Regions from separate parts of the Homo sapiens genome. Here all the other regions are linked to region 1. Evidence: promoter capture Hi-C in human tissues and cell types (Jung and others, 2019). All regions are on one chromosome and are shown on one strand. Each heading gives the region's core, a stretch centred on a gene start or on the middle of the fragment in contact. The rest is flanking DNA. Distances are from core to core; before and after follow the strand shown. Region 1 holds the start of MYRIP (myosin VIIA and Rab interacting protein). Region 2 overlaps MYRIP (myosin VIIA and Rab interacting protein). Region 3 has its middle 37 kb from the start of MYRIP.

Evidence for each region. Contacts are between HindIII fragments. The study calls those that stand out against the background at their distance.
Region 2: a contact is called between a fragment that was not itself captured here and the fragment with the promoter of MYRIP in region 1, in 3 of the 25 tissues and cell types used here (bladder, pancreas and small bowel).
Region 3: a contact is called between a fragment that was not itself captured here and the fragment with the promoter of MYRIP in region 1, in 4 of the 25 tissues and cell types used here (hippocampus, pancreas, psoas muscle and 1 more).

The regions. Positions count from the first base shown.
Region 1 is chr3:39,807,071-39,811,674 of GRCh38, forward strand. It overlaps MYRIP (myosin VIIA and Rab interacting protein), which reads left to right and starts at 2,539. Exons shown (of 17, transcript NM_015460.4): 1 at 2,539-2,846. The HindIII fragment of the contact is 15,982 bases long and covers 1-4,604 here.
Region 2 is chr3:39,845,559-39,850,162 of GRCh38, forward strand. All of the region lies in intron 1 of MYRIP (myosin VIIA and Rab interacting protein), which reads left to right. Among named protein-coding and RNA genes, the nearest start is that of MYRIP, 38 kb to the left of the region's middle. The HindIII fragment of the contact is 6,157 bases long and covers 1-4,604 here.
Region 3 is chr3:39,770,294-39,774,897 of GRCh38, forward strand. No RefSeq gene overlaps it. Among named protein-coding and RNA genes, the nearest start is that of MYRIP, 37 kb to the right of the region's middle. The HindIII fragment of the contact is 6,388 bases long and covers 1-4,604 here.

The sequences.
Region 1 (4,604 bases), core at 1,289-3,788:
TGGTCTGACAAAAATAAACCAAAAAATGGGCAAAGGATATGAACATAGAGTTTAAAAGGAAATACAAGTGTCTCATAAACATATGCAAAATGTTCTACCTCACTTTTAATAAGATAATAGCAAGTCAAGCTATCGAGACCATTTTATATAATTGGCAAAGATCTGCAAGTTGGATAATGTACTGTGTAAAGGGATATGTCAGTGTATCAGAAAAGTATCAGTCAGGTACAACTAGAAAAACAGAAACCACTTGGAATATTTGAAATGGGGGGAAGTTAAAACATAGAGTTGGTTACCCGGAGGATGTGAGAGGCTGAAAGACTCCCAGGAAACAGTGAGACCACTGGAGATTAGCAACAGTAGGACATCCTGTTACCTCCAGGCCAAAGGGACAAGAGGGGGAGATGTTGCCAGAACCCAGGGAGCTGAGCCCATACTGAGCCTGTCCTACTGGACTTGGGACCACCCAGGAGGAGTAGCTGCTGCCCTAGACACCCTTCTGTTCCCACCACTCAAGCTGAAAGGGAAGAATGGGAAACACCCTGGCTTCTCCCTTTCTCCCTCCTATTCTCCTACTGCTGAGTCCCATCGGCCAATTGATAGGGGAGTCTGGGAAATGAAGCCCCCCATGAAGCAGAGTCGGAAGGACTAGGAATGGATATGAGAGCTAACAGGCTCAGAACCATCAGAGGGGTGGGTGTGTGAAATATGCACTCACATACCTTGTGTGAGATCATGAGTTTATATCTCTATGAAGGGCATTTGACATTATCCAAATTACAAATGCACATCACCGTTGACCCCATGATCCAGTTGTACAGATTTATTCTTCATATGTACCCCCACACGTACACAGTTACATAGGAACAAAGTTATTCATGCATAATTGTTATTAACAGTGATAGATTGGAGACCATTTAAATGCCCATAATTGGGGGCCCTTACATAAATTTTGGCATATCTTATTCAATGGAATATCATACAGCTGTAAAATAACAAGAAAAAGTTTTTGGTAATGATATGGAATGACTCCACGATAATATCTTGTTAAGGGAAAAGATCAAAATGTAAAACAATGTGCATAGTTTGTACAACAAAAATAAAAATAAGAGCATTAGACAAATATGTTTGTGTATATGTCAATTTCCTTGAGGGAGGTACACACTGGTTGCCCCCAGGAAGAGGAATTGAGAGACAAGGGTGGGAGGGAGTCTTGTTAACTGTGTTCCATTTGTAGTTTTAGAATTTTGTGCCACATGAATGCTAATCAAGCACAGCTAAATAAAATTTAAATTTAATGTAAACAAAAGAGAAACAAACTAACTTCCTTCCACTTTACCAGTTTGTAGACATTAAAATCCCTTTAAAGGAGGGAATCGAATCTTTAAAGAAATTAACTCCTTTACCTTCCGAGTTCCTTTCTTTAAGGTTTTGTCTTGTTTTGTTTTGTTTTCTGCTGTGGACTGATCAGCAAACAAGCCATTTATTTCTACTGCGCACATTTACACGGAGAGAACAGCCTCAACCCACCGGCTTGAGAGGATTTCCAGGGATTCAGAAATCGCCAGTGTAACTCCATAAATGCTTTATTTTCATGGAGCGACTTCCACCCTGCAGCTAAAATTGACAAAGTGTTTTCACAGCCGAGTTGTTGGGGCTGAGGCAGTGGGTCTCAGGAAGATCCCTGGCTTAATGGATGCAAACGCACAATGAAGTCCCGGCCTGGAGTGGAACCTTTCAACTCCCAGTCATTCTTCCAGGACCGGGAACTCCTGGCACGAGCCCGAAAGCGTTCCTCACTTGCAGCAGTCTTTGGGAGTCTTTCTGACAGCGCGGGCTCACTAACCCGGCGGTTCCGCAGCTGTGTTTGGGAGACTTGGGGGCGCATTAGCCTGGACAGCTCCCTGATCGGTAACCCCTTTGATGTGTGTTGAATGAATGAGCGTCGTTAGCGTAGTAGTAAATTTATGGGAGAATTAAAGCAATCCAGATAGGGGTCACTACGGAGACTTTAATTACCCAGGGACTGTGAAGTGGGGAAGAGCTGTCTGTGGAGGAGCGCCACACCATGTCTTAGATTCAGGCAGGCCCCGGATTCTGGTGACCCATTACTCTACGGTCACTGAGGGTCCGGGCCCCCAGGACTCAGAGGCAGGAGACAGGAAAAGCCTGACTTAGAATCGGGGAAGGACCTGGAGTCGCACATGGGGGCTCCCGAACCGCGGCCCCAATACTGCACTGCGCCGCAGGGAAGAGCCCCGGGAGGGGCGCGGGTCCCCGCCCCGGGCGCGCGCAGCCCTGCCCCGCCTCCTCCCGGTGCGCCCCGCCCCTCCCGGCGCGTGCCGCCCGCGCGCCCGAGGTGCTCTGGAGGAACCGGCCCGGCGGGCACCCCCTGCCCCGGCGCAGGCGCGATCGCGGGCCGCCCCTCCCGCCGGGCGCCCTGCACGCGCCCCCGCCCCGCCTCCGCAGGCTCCCCCGCTCCGGGCGCCTCTGATTGGCTCTCGGCCGGGCCAGCAGGTGTCGGCGGTGGCTGCGGCCAGGCTGGCCCTGGCTGCCTGCGGCGCGGGCGCCTCCCTCGCAGCCGCTGCTGCCGACGCCGCTGCGCTCCCGCCTCCTGTCGGTTCCCGGGTTCCCGCTGCGGCTGCGGTTCTGGCAGCCGAGCCCCCGCGGTGCTGCAGCCCAGCTTTAGCGCGCAGACCGACCCGCGCCCCTTCTTCGCCGCCGGCAGCCTCTAATCCACGCGGCGCGTTGCGGCAGGTGCCCTGGGCGTACTGAGGCGCGGTGGCCTGAGCCCGGCCGCCATCGATGACCCCGGTCGCGGACTTGCTTCAGGCTGGCCACCCCCCGTGAGTACCGTCCGCCTCCCTCTTCTCCCCTCTGGCAGCTTTGCGCCACTCTCCCCTCAACGTTGCCGCAACTTCGGGGGTGGGTGTGTGAAGGTGTGGAGGTGTCTCTCACGCTCCCCCGCACCCTGTGCGCGTCCGGAGCCAGGAACCCTAGGCGCGGCCAGTCAGCCTCTGCGGAGGGGCGAGGGGCGCGGGTACTTGAACTTGCTCAGGGATCATCGCGGAGCCAGAATCGCCTCTTTCTCTCGCTGCTGGGGTGGGAGCTCGCCTCTGCGTTTCCCTCGCGTTTTCCGATCCCGGATGGCCACGTAGTGCTTGGGCTGCGGTTCACCGCGTACCTACTGTGCTGCGGGCGCACCGGCGGGACGCCTCAAACCATCCGTTAAGCGCCCCGCAAGCAGCCCAGCGCGACGGACCTGACTCAAACTCTTAATTCTGTAAAACGGGGGTAATCAGGGACTCTCTCAAGGTCACAGCTGGTGCTCAGAGTTAGAACACAGGTGGATTGCGTCTGGCCCTCGCCCGCGGGCTGCCTGGGGAGGGGAGAGCTGTTGGCGGGGCGGTCACTTCAGCTTCATCCCGGGTTCCTCCTCATACTCCCTTTCCGCCACAGCCGCCAGACTTGAAGAGGTAGGGAGCCAATCCCAGGGGGCTCTACATAGATTTGGAGGTAACGGCGGAGGATCTTCCTGATGGACGCGTGGAGCGGAAAGATTCAGTGGTGGGAACCCCAAGACCTGCGGCTTTTTGGAGCACTTGCTCCCCTTCTTGTTCCTTAATTTACTGACGTCTTGGCAGGGTAGGGGAATTTGTTCTTATATCCGTCCTGCTCCTCTTTTCTTTTGCCAAATAAGCACCGTCCCCAAGGATAAGTACGTATCCCAAAACTCTTAAATGCACACACTGGTTTGGGCCTAGGGACTTCCTAAGAGAAGCGAGTACGCTGTGGGCTTGGTTCGCTAACGTTGGCTCCTATCCGCTCCTAGAAAATGCCTTGAGTCTGGCTTCATTTCCATGCTCTCCATCTCCCCGACCATGATCTCGATTTGTTGATTTTCTTGACACTTACTCAGGGGAGGAAGACTGAGACTGGGGGCTGGCCAGTCTTGGGGTATGCAAATGATGTCGGGTGTGATTCTTTTACTCCAGGTCCTTTGAGGTGGCTCCAGTGGGGCCGCCTGTGGTGTTGTGGGCGCTTCTCAGAGCTCTGGGCTGGGGAGAGCGTCACCTAGCCTCTCTTGCCATTATCACCTTGTCCCTTCAACTCAGCCTCCCCCACCCCAACTCTGAAACTCAGCCATGAGATCAATACTTAGTTTTGTGATGACTGACCAGCATCTTTGAACCTGAACTTTTTCATTTATAAAATGAAATAATCCCCGCCGCCTTTCAATCTTCCCAAGGAACTTGGAGTTCATAGGATATGATAAATGTGAAAATGCACTGGGGTTTTATTAAAAAGTCGAAGGAAGATGGTTCAAGGCATCTGGGTCTACGGTGGAAATGGAGGTAATTTAAAAAATTTTACAGCAATATCTGGGACCCTATTTGCAGATTTCAAAATCTTTTTAGAGAAATTTAGTTTCCCAAGACTTTGAAGATACTGCTTTCCATCTTCCTGCTCACGTTCCTTTGCCTGGCCATGGGCAGCTGCGTCTCTCCTAATTACCCACCACTACCTCCATCTGCGAGCTGTCTCTGTGGGCCAGAAGCTGTGTCTGTGGGACTGTTTCTGGAGAGTGGGGGGAGGCTGTGTGT
Region 2 (4,604 bases), core at 1,007-3,506, 38 kb after region 1:
CTTATTTAGTACGAATAGTTGACATTGTTTTAGTAACATCACTGTGGCAGGACTTGAAATTTTGCAAGAGTTATTTTTAATAGTCTGCTTTCCAATAAATCAGTCAACAAATAAATGCCATCTATCTACTAGTAATTGACTGGAGGTGGGGGCTCAAGGGACTCCTGGATGATAAGGGAATTGTCACCCACTTTTTTTCTAAGCACAGATACTGATCCAGGCAGGCCTTTTCCAGTCAGCGCAAGAGCAGTTGCCCTGCAGCACTAGGTCCATTACAAAGAACTTTCCCCTACCAAAAAAAAAAAAAAAAAAAATTCATGCTTCCAGTAGTCACCTGAAACTGAATGAACAGGTAAAAACACTTAGATCAAATTTCAATTATTTATGTTCACTGCAAAATGAGATGACCTTCCTGCAGTCACAGAATGATTCTAGAACTTGCAGATCAAATATAAATTTTGTGCCTTCTAAATGAGTTACTAGAAATTAAAATATATGCACATTTTGGAAAACTTTGTTTTGAAGCATTTAAAATGACAACATGGATGGCGATTAGCATAGAAGTTGGAAGAGTTCCCACTGTTCAGCAGGAGTTAACAAAGGTGGTCCCCTGAACTCTCTCAACTCTTGGAAAAGCTTCATTCCTCTCTCCTATCCCAGTCATCAAAGCTTGCAGACACCATCTGCCTTGGTACCATCAGGGCCAATGTTATCATTCCTTTAATCTTAGTTCATTAATTTCCACAAGAATCCCAGGTCTCCTAGATCACCCTGCATTCCCTTGGACTCTGATCCCCACTCACCTATGTACACTCCTTCGTCTGACCCTGTCTCCCACCTTTCCTTTTCCCTATGAGGGCTGTGAAGGTTGATCATCAGCAGTATCCCCTGGATCATCTTCCCAGATGTGCATTTCATTTCCTTCCCTTTCTCTCTCCCAAGTAGATGCTGTTTCTATCCAACTACCACTGGGCCTGCAGGTGTTAGAAGTGCCTTCCTTGTTCCTCATTGTTGCTTTGAAGTTGTTCAGGCTGCCACCTCTATATAGCAAAACAAAAACTGTGTCATCAGATGCTATTATCTACTTTCCTCCCTTATTGCACTTCCCTGCTGATCCCTAAATCCTTTCCTCTAATTCTGTTAAGATTAATGTTAGGGTTCTTGAGAGAAACAGAATCAATACAATATGCATATTTATAGAAATAGATTTATTTTAAAGACTTGGATCCCATGATTATTGAGGTTGGTGAGTCCAGCATTTGCAGTGTGGGCCAGCAGCTTGAGACCCAGGAGAGCTGATGGTAAAGTTCCCATTGGAAGGCTAGCAGGTGGACACCCAGGAGAGCAAATTGTGCATATGAAATCTGAAGGCAGTCTGCTGGAGAATCCTCTCTTGCTCAGGGAGCTCATTCTTTTTGTTCTATCCAGACTTTGCACCAACTGAGTTAGGTTGATTCACATTAAGCAGGGCAATCTCTTTTACTCAAAGTTTAATGCCAAGCTCATCCAAAAACACCCTGCAAGTTGACACATGAAATTAATAATCACAGGTCCATCCTTTATCAACTTGGCAACCATATGCATCTCTTTAACCCATACTTAATCTCCAAATAAAGACAATAACAAGGTCATACTTCCACCTTTTATGATAAAGATATCCTGCATGCAACTGAAAACTCACTAACCCTTTCCCCAGAAGAGGATGCAAAGTCTTGGATGATGTTCACTCTTGTGTATCCCATAACTTTAAATACTGTGATGTAAAGTTAACTCTACTTAAATGCTATGCTATAAAGTCAGTACATGATAAGGAGGTAAGAAAGAGAAGAAAACAAAGGTATTTGTTTTCTTCTCTTCATGTTCATAACAAAATAAGGAAGAAATACTCATGATAGTTACACTTCTTGTTTCTGTAACTGGTTGTATAGTCATAGCTGGTACTCATAACTACCCTCTTCCACTAGCAAGCCCATATGCTCCTTGCTCTCAACAAGTACCTCAACAGGTCATAGTTCTTTACCTTCTTTTCTTGATGGCACTGCTTCTGGGTTAATTCTCAGTGATTTTGATACCCACAGAGATGATCCTTTTAAGGCCCAGGCCTCTTGGCTGCCTGGCCTCCTCTCTCCAGTGGCATTGTCCTCATCTACTGTATTTCTGGAAACTCATTCCTTCTTTTGTATGAATGCTTCCATATATGCCCTCCCTGAGCCTCTCTGGCTGGAGTTCATAGTAGCGTTTGCTGCCTTAGTAGTTTCCATGCAGGACCATGTTATCTGTTATCCCCCTCACCCCCCAAGGATTTCCCTGAATCCCAGTCTTTCTCTGAGTCTTTCTCTATGTTTATGAGTAAACCTGGGCATGATTAGGGCTGCAGCAATCACACAGCTCTCTGAAGAACTGCTCTGACTGATACTCATCGTAAGCACCTTCCTGCCCTCCAAAATTGTAATACCGTTGAAGGCTAGAGGGTACTGCAAAAGCTTCCTCCAACATGCTGGTGGGGTTAGGAGTGGAGAAGAACAAATGAGCAGCCTTCTAGTGTTATAGACGCCAGACTGTGAGTCCCAGCTGAGCCTCACAGATAAGTTTCTCTGCAGTGTTGGAGCCACACGGGTGTAGTGTTGTATCCTGCCTTCCTACTCAGCATCATTTAAATGTTTCCTCATGCTATTGCAAATGCTCATTATAGATATTCTTAATGGCTGCTTCATATGTCATTGAATGATTGTACTGTATTTGCATAAAATTGGAAAGGTACTTTTTATTTTTTTAAAATAAACCAGAATACAAGCCTAATACTTCAATCATTTATCAAAATACAGAGTTCTGTGTTCCCCTTTAATAAGTTACACTCATTTTTAAGAAAGAAAGTAGGATATTAAATAGTTTCCTTTTGCTTATTTTGACTCCTCTTTACTTTTTCTGCTATTTCAGTGGAGAGGCCTTGCCTTTCCCTTGTAAGGGAAGTTCTACTGATTATTGTTCATACATAGTCACATGACACTGCTAAGAATATCTGCATGACACATGTAAGAAAGGAGGCTAAGCTACTTAAGAGCTCTCATGAGCATGTACTTTCAGATGACAAATATTTAAGGGTGAAATAAAAGTGAAGTATATCAGAAATCCATGTCAGACATGTAAACATGTTATACACTTGAGATTCATCAGTATTTTGATTAATAGATACTTTTCCTTATTTTTGAAGGCAAATGCACAAAACTTGGAATTTTCAATTAAGATGACCTCTTCCCTAAACGTGTTGCTAAATTTTTATGCCACGAGAGAGGGAAACATTGTGAGTTTTAATAATTTATATCTCTGTGGTAAGGAGGAGTTGGAAAAAAAAGAGCAGACCTAGGAAAAATATGCCATAGCATGTTCAGACCTCTGTATCAAATGTGCACAGGAGTAACGTATTTTGAAAGAAGGGAATTAATTCATTTTAATGTATTCTTCCAGTTCTGTGAGTCTCTAGGAGAATTTTTTATTCTATGGAACACATTACTAGGATGTAGAGGGTACATCTGTCTATCCTATAGGATATAGATATAGGTAAACCACAGCATTGAAGTAGGAGCAGACAGAAAGGACAAAGGACCCAAAATGATGGGCTACAACTTGCCTTGTCCTCTTTCCAAACCACGCTGTCCACTGTAATCCTAAAGTGGGGTCCCATATTCCAGTACCAATGGATGACGGAATAAGGAAAGAAAAAAAATTTCCCAGGATGCTTTGGGTAGTCTGAAGTTGGATACAAATAGATAAAGCCACCTCTGTGCTTCTCATTTATTTCCGAGTCTAATACTGAAGCCATCAAAACAACTACATTTTTATGAAGTAGTTTTAACCATCCAATGGAAAAATTGTGCCAGGGTAATACTGGCAAGTTGTTTTCTCCGGTCCACGGGATGTGATGGATGACCTGGGGAGACAGAGGTCCAGCCTTCCCGGAGTGGAGATGGTGAGAGGTTCATCAGTAGCTACAGGCATGTCATGGTGATCACACTGGTAATTTGTAAGTTATAAATGTGAACTTGTAAGTTGTCTCTTAGTTGTGTAAATTTGTTAAAAGGAGGATTTTTGGGGACAGTAAATTGAAGATTTTGTGTTCTTGGCAGTTGCTAGTCCTCGGGTTTTCTACAACTCAGTGTCATCTAAGTCAGATGAGAGTTTCTTCTACAGTGTAGAGAGATGATGATTCTCCCATAAATAAAACTGAGCTCTGAGGCTCTAGGAGGAAAAAGAAAGCCTGACCCTTTTGACTTATAAGTGTGGGTAGGAGAGAATTAGTGACTGCCAAGAACAAAACATTGTCAGCTACCTGTTCCTAAAATGTCCTCCCTCTAACAAACTTAAATGACTAAGAGACAACTTTAAAAGTTCGGATTTATAACTTAGAGATTATCAGGATGGTCACCACGACATGCCTGTACTTCCTGAGAGGGAAGGCACAGAGGTCAAGAGTGTGTGTTCTGATGTTCCTCTTCCTAGAGTAGGGTGTCAGAGAGTATGAGTGTGTGTCTCACAGGGAGTCGAGTAGAGGACTAGTCTAGGGGGAAGCTGCAAACCTCTCCAGGAAGCTCTATTTGTAACCGCAT
Region 3 (4,604 bases), core at 1,569-4,068, 36 kb before region 1:
TAAGCTCCTGGCAAGGCCCTCTGGCTAAGGACATCATTTGGAGAAAGGACAGTTGTGTGCCATTAGCAGCCCATACTCATAGGACCTGGGAAATGGAGGACCAGCTGAGTAATGGGATCTGAGAAAGTACCACAAAGAGCCACAACAGTGGGTTATGAAGTCATTTTGTAAGACAGAGGCATTGGAGGTGACTGCGATCTTGGCACTTCCAATGTGCTCATTTGGAATTACACACCTGCACCTCCCCCGCCCCCCCACACACACCTTTTACATGCCTGTTGATGACTGGATTTAAAGCAATGATTATTTTACTTCTCTCTCTAGGGAGAATCCTCAGCCATCTTTCCCCTACACCAACTTCCATAATCATGCATTTTTCATTCATATCAAAGACAAACAAAAACTTAGGTCTTAACACATCCCATCATAGCTAATGTCAGGTGAGTGCTTTCTATATGCCAGCCACTGATCTAAGATCTCTATATGTGTTACCCTACTTAGCTCTTACACAAATGGGGGAGGTGTTACTAGTATCAATGTAAACTGCTCTGGAGCATAGAAAAAAGAAATTATACTTTCAAACTCTTTTTTTGATGCCAATATTACTCATATAACAAAGCCTGACAAGGAAGGAAGGAAGGAAGACAGGCAAGCTTTAAACCAATCTTGTTTATAAATAGCGACAGGCAAGAACAATGTAAGAACACTTATTATCACTATAATTACATAAAAATATATTTAATATAGCTAATACCCCATATAATGAAATGAGATAAAGAACAACAGGTATAAATATTGGACTACTAGAAAGACATAGACAAAAATATTAGTATGTGTGGATGATACAATATTCTCATCCATGAACCTATCTAATAATATACAATATTATACCCAAGAATCTAAGCGGTCCATTGTATTTTAAAACTCAGTGACCATATTTTTTCCTCCAAGGCATTTTTCTCTGATGTAGAATATCACTGAGTGTATAAAGATGCATCTTAGAAAAAGTCAAATTCGTAAGAATTTGTTCTGATACCTCAGATTGGTCTGCTTTCTTTTAATTGCTAACCCTTTTTTACATGTGGTTTTTCTCAGTTTGTTTATTCACCAAAAGGACCCATCTAGGTGTGTCCAATATTGACAGTTGAGAAAATTCTGCCATGACTCAGGTGGGACCATGTTGTCACATTTAGTTCCAGAGATAAACTTTATATTTACAGTGGCTTAATATTGTTGTATTGGGGTCTTTGGGGGCTAAACAGTGAAGAAAGGAAGGCATCAGCTCAAAAGCTGAATGAAAGAAAAATTGATCAGTATTCTGAAAGGTGGCTACTCAAACTCAAGTTGACTGGGTTATTCTTCCCTTTTCAAACTATTTCCGTGATGATAGGTATTTTAGGTGAATTTGTATATTAGTAAAATATAGTGTTGCCACATGTGTACCTCTCTGTAGATAGAACCAAAAAATAATTTTTTGAACTGCTAGAATATTTTTTTAAAAAGGAAGAAATCATACAATGATTACTTGCTATGATTTTGGTGGTAAAGTCAACTCTCTAATACATTAAATTGTAAAGATTTTAAAGGCAATATGCATCTTAGCTGAGAATCCTAAAGTAGGAATACACAGAAGGAGTGTGGGATGGTAAGGAAGCAAATAATCTTGCAAAGTATTTTCAACTCTCAAAAAATAAACTTGAAGCAGTAAGCTGTGCCACAACAGGAAATATTAGAGCTACACCAAATGCTCATTAAACATATCATCAACTGCTCTGAACAAAGCTGGGATTTACTTTCTGGGAAGCAGTGATATTTCCAGAAAATAAAAATGTAAATATCATTTTTACCTATTAACTCTAATTTGAGAATTACAAATTAATTACAAAAAATAGAAAAGATCAGAAGAAAAAGTATCAGAGTGCAAGTCCATTTTCCTAGTTCTACCACTTGGCTTTGTGAGCCAAGAAAAGTTACTTAACTTTCTGAGCCTAGGCTTTGAAATGGAAGCACTAATAACAATAATGTAGTGATAGACTATTGTTAAGGTGAATAAAAGAAAGGAGTAGATATAGTACAGCACCTTTTTGCAAGAGAAATAATGAAAGAAGACATTGTACGTGTACCTGCTCATTTTTGAAAAAGTACAGACAAGAAGGACAAACCAAAAACTAACAAAATTGGTTACCTCAAGGATATGAATGGGAATGGGGTAGAAGGGTTGGGGAGCATGAGGCAATACTTCTCTGATTAGTTGGTTTGCTGTAATTTCATCTTTGGAGTCATGTTTGTGTTTTATAGAAATAAAAAATAAAATTAAAATATTTACAAGGATGAGAGAGGAAACCCTATAATGAATGCAAACAAAAAGAAATATATCTAACTGTATTCCAAATGAATAGCATCACTAAACTGAAGGTGAAAATAAGAAGAACTCACCCAAGTAACTTTTTAAACACAGTATTTTGACTATATGCCTTCAGAGTAAGCTAAAAAAGAACCGTAAAGAAATACTGAACTATAGTTAGCAAAGTTTGTTTTTTTCCCCATAGTGGTACGTGTTAGCAATTCTAAAACTACTTTTTATGCATTGTAATTTTGAGATAAGTAAATATATTGAGAATGAGGAAGCTAAAATGAAATCTGTGGTGCTGGATTGAAATTGAAAGTTTCTTTTTATTATTGGCACAAACTCATGATATATAACATAGAGACAGACAGACAAATAGAAATGTGTGTACATTTACATGTACATACATATATTTTCTAGCTCTGTCTACTGAGAGTCTAGAAGCCATGACAAAGTATTAATAGTAGCAGTGAGCACACCAACTGCCCAGATCTTGGTTTCTAAATACCATTCTCTAATAAAAGAAACCAATGGTCCTTGGAAAATGGTTTGTTGCACAACAGGAGCTGGGAGAATACAAGATGACCCCTGAACATGTTGTGTCAGAAAGTGAAAGGATGCTCAAAATCTGATAGAGACATGATAAACAGACATGAGAGCTAACTTAAAGGAGCATGATGGGCTAATTATGGTACAATTTGAGTACTAAATAAAATAATGACAATAATCAATTAGAACATGCTGAATTAAAAGATACAGTGATACCCCAAAATAGAAACATAAGAGAAAAAAAAGCCTCACGTTTTATAGAAAAACACTAGCTAATAGATTTAGAAAGAATAATAATAGTAGGGAAAATCATTTTACAACTCCAATGTAATAATTGATTTAGGCAAGAATTATCAGTGGATGCTAACACCATTAGGTAAAAACTTTTGGGGAAACAACATATTCACATGGTCTCCAATTATCTCCTTTTTTTCCTGTAAGTGACTTCTCAATTGCAAAAGAGTAAGTTACCTCTTTAATGAGGGATGTCGAAAAATTACTTTCACTTAAGAAAGTTACCTATAGTAACTAAGAGCAAATAGCATAAAGAGAAAGAATAAGATATACAGGTCAACTCTCTAATGTTCAAGATTATTACACATACCATTGCCTTTGCAATAACACAAGAAATAGAGTTATAAGATGTAAATATTTTTCTGAATAGGTTAAGCTATCTGTGGATGTCATTGTGCCTAGATATTCAAGAGAATCGAAGACAGAAGATAAAAGGTTGATAAATTTGAAAACACTAAAATTCCAATTTCTTGAATAAGTTGGATTATAACTCAAAGAATAAAACAAATATTTATAAAGCTATGCCAACACAAATAAACAATTGAATGAATAAATAAATAGAGGAGAAGGGATAAAATGTCTTTACAAAAAAAAAAAAATCAAATAAATGTAGATTTTTCTCCCCGATCCAGGAAGTGAAGCTCAATTTCCTTCTTCTTAAGTGTGGGCTACATTTAATGACTTGCTTCTGACATATAGAGAATGAAAAGGGGGAAAACAGTGACTTTAAGCAGAGAAATCTGGCAGACATTACCTTAACCAAGTGATCGAGGTTAACATCACCAGTTATCACATCGTATCTGAGGGTACATAATATCAACATGACTATAAGTCATCATGTGATGAGGAGACATCTTCACCTCTGTCATGATCTTCCCCCAAATCCGTAACATCAGTCTAATCATGAGAAAATATCAGACAAACCCAAATTGAGGAACATTCCACAAAACACCTGACAAGTACTGTTCAAAAGTGTCAAGGTCATGAAAACAAGGAAACACTAAAAATTGTCAGATTATAGGAGAAAAATGAAACATGATGACCATATGTAACATGGTATGCTAGATGAAATCTTGGAACAGAGAAAGTACATTAGTATGAAAACTGAAGAAATTCAAATAAAATCTGTAAATTAGTTAATAGTATCATAAGAAATGTTAATTTCTTACTTTTGACAAATGTTTAATGATTGTATAATATGTTAACATTAGGAGAAGCTAGGTTAAGAGTACACAGGAAGTCTCTTGCTATCTTTGCAATTTTTCTCTAAATCTAAAATTATTTGAAGATAAAAGTTTTTTTTAACAAGCTTGATAATGATAAAAATTACTTGGATAAAATGTTGTACTAGAAAACCCCACCACAAATATAATACAGTGACAGAATTGAAATATTTACAATATGCATTGTAATA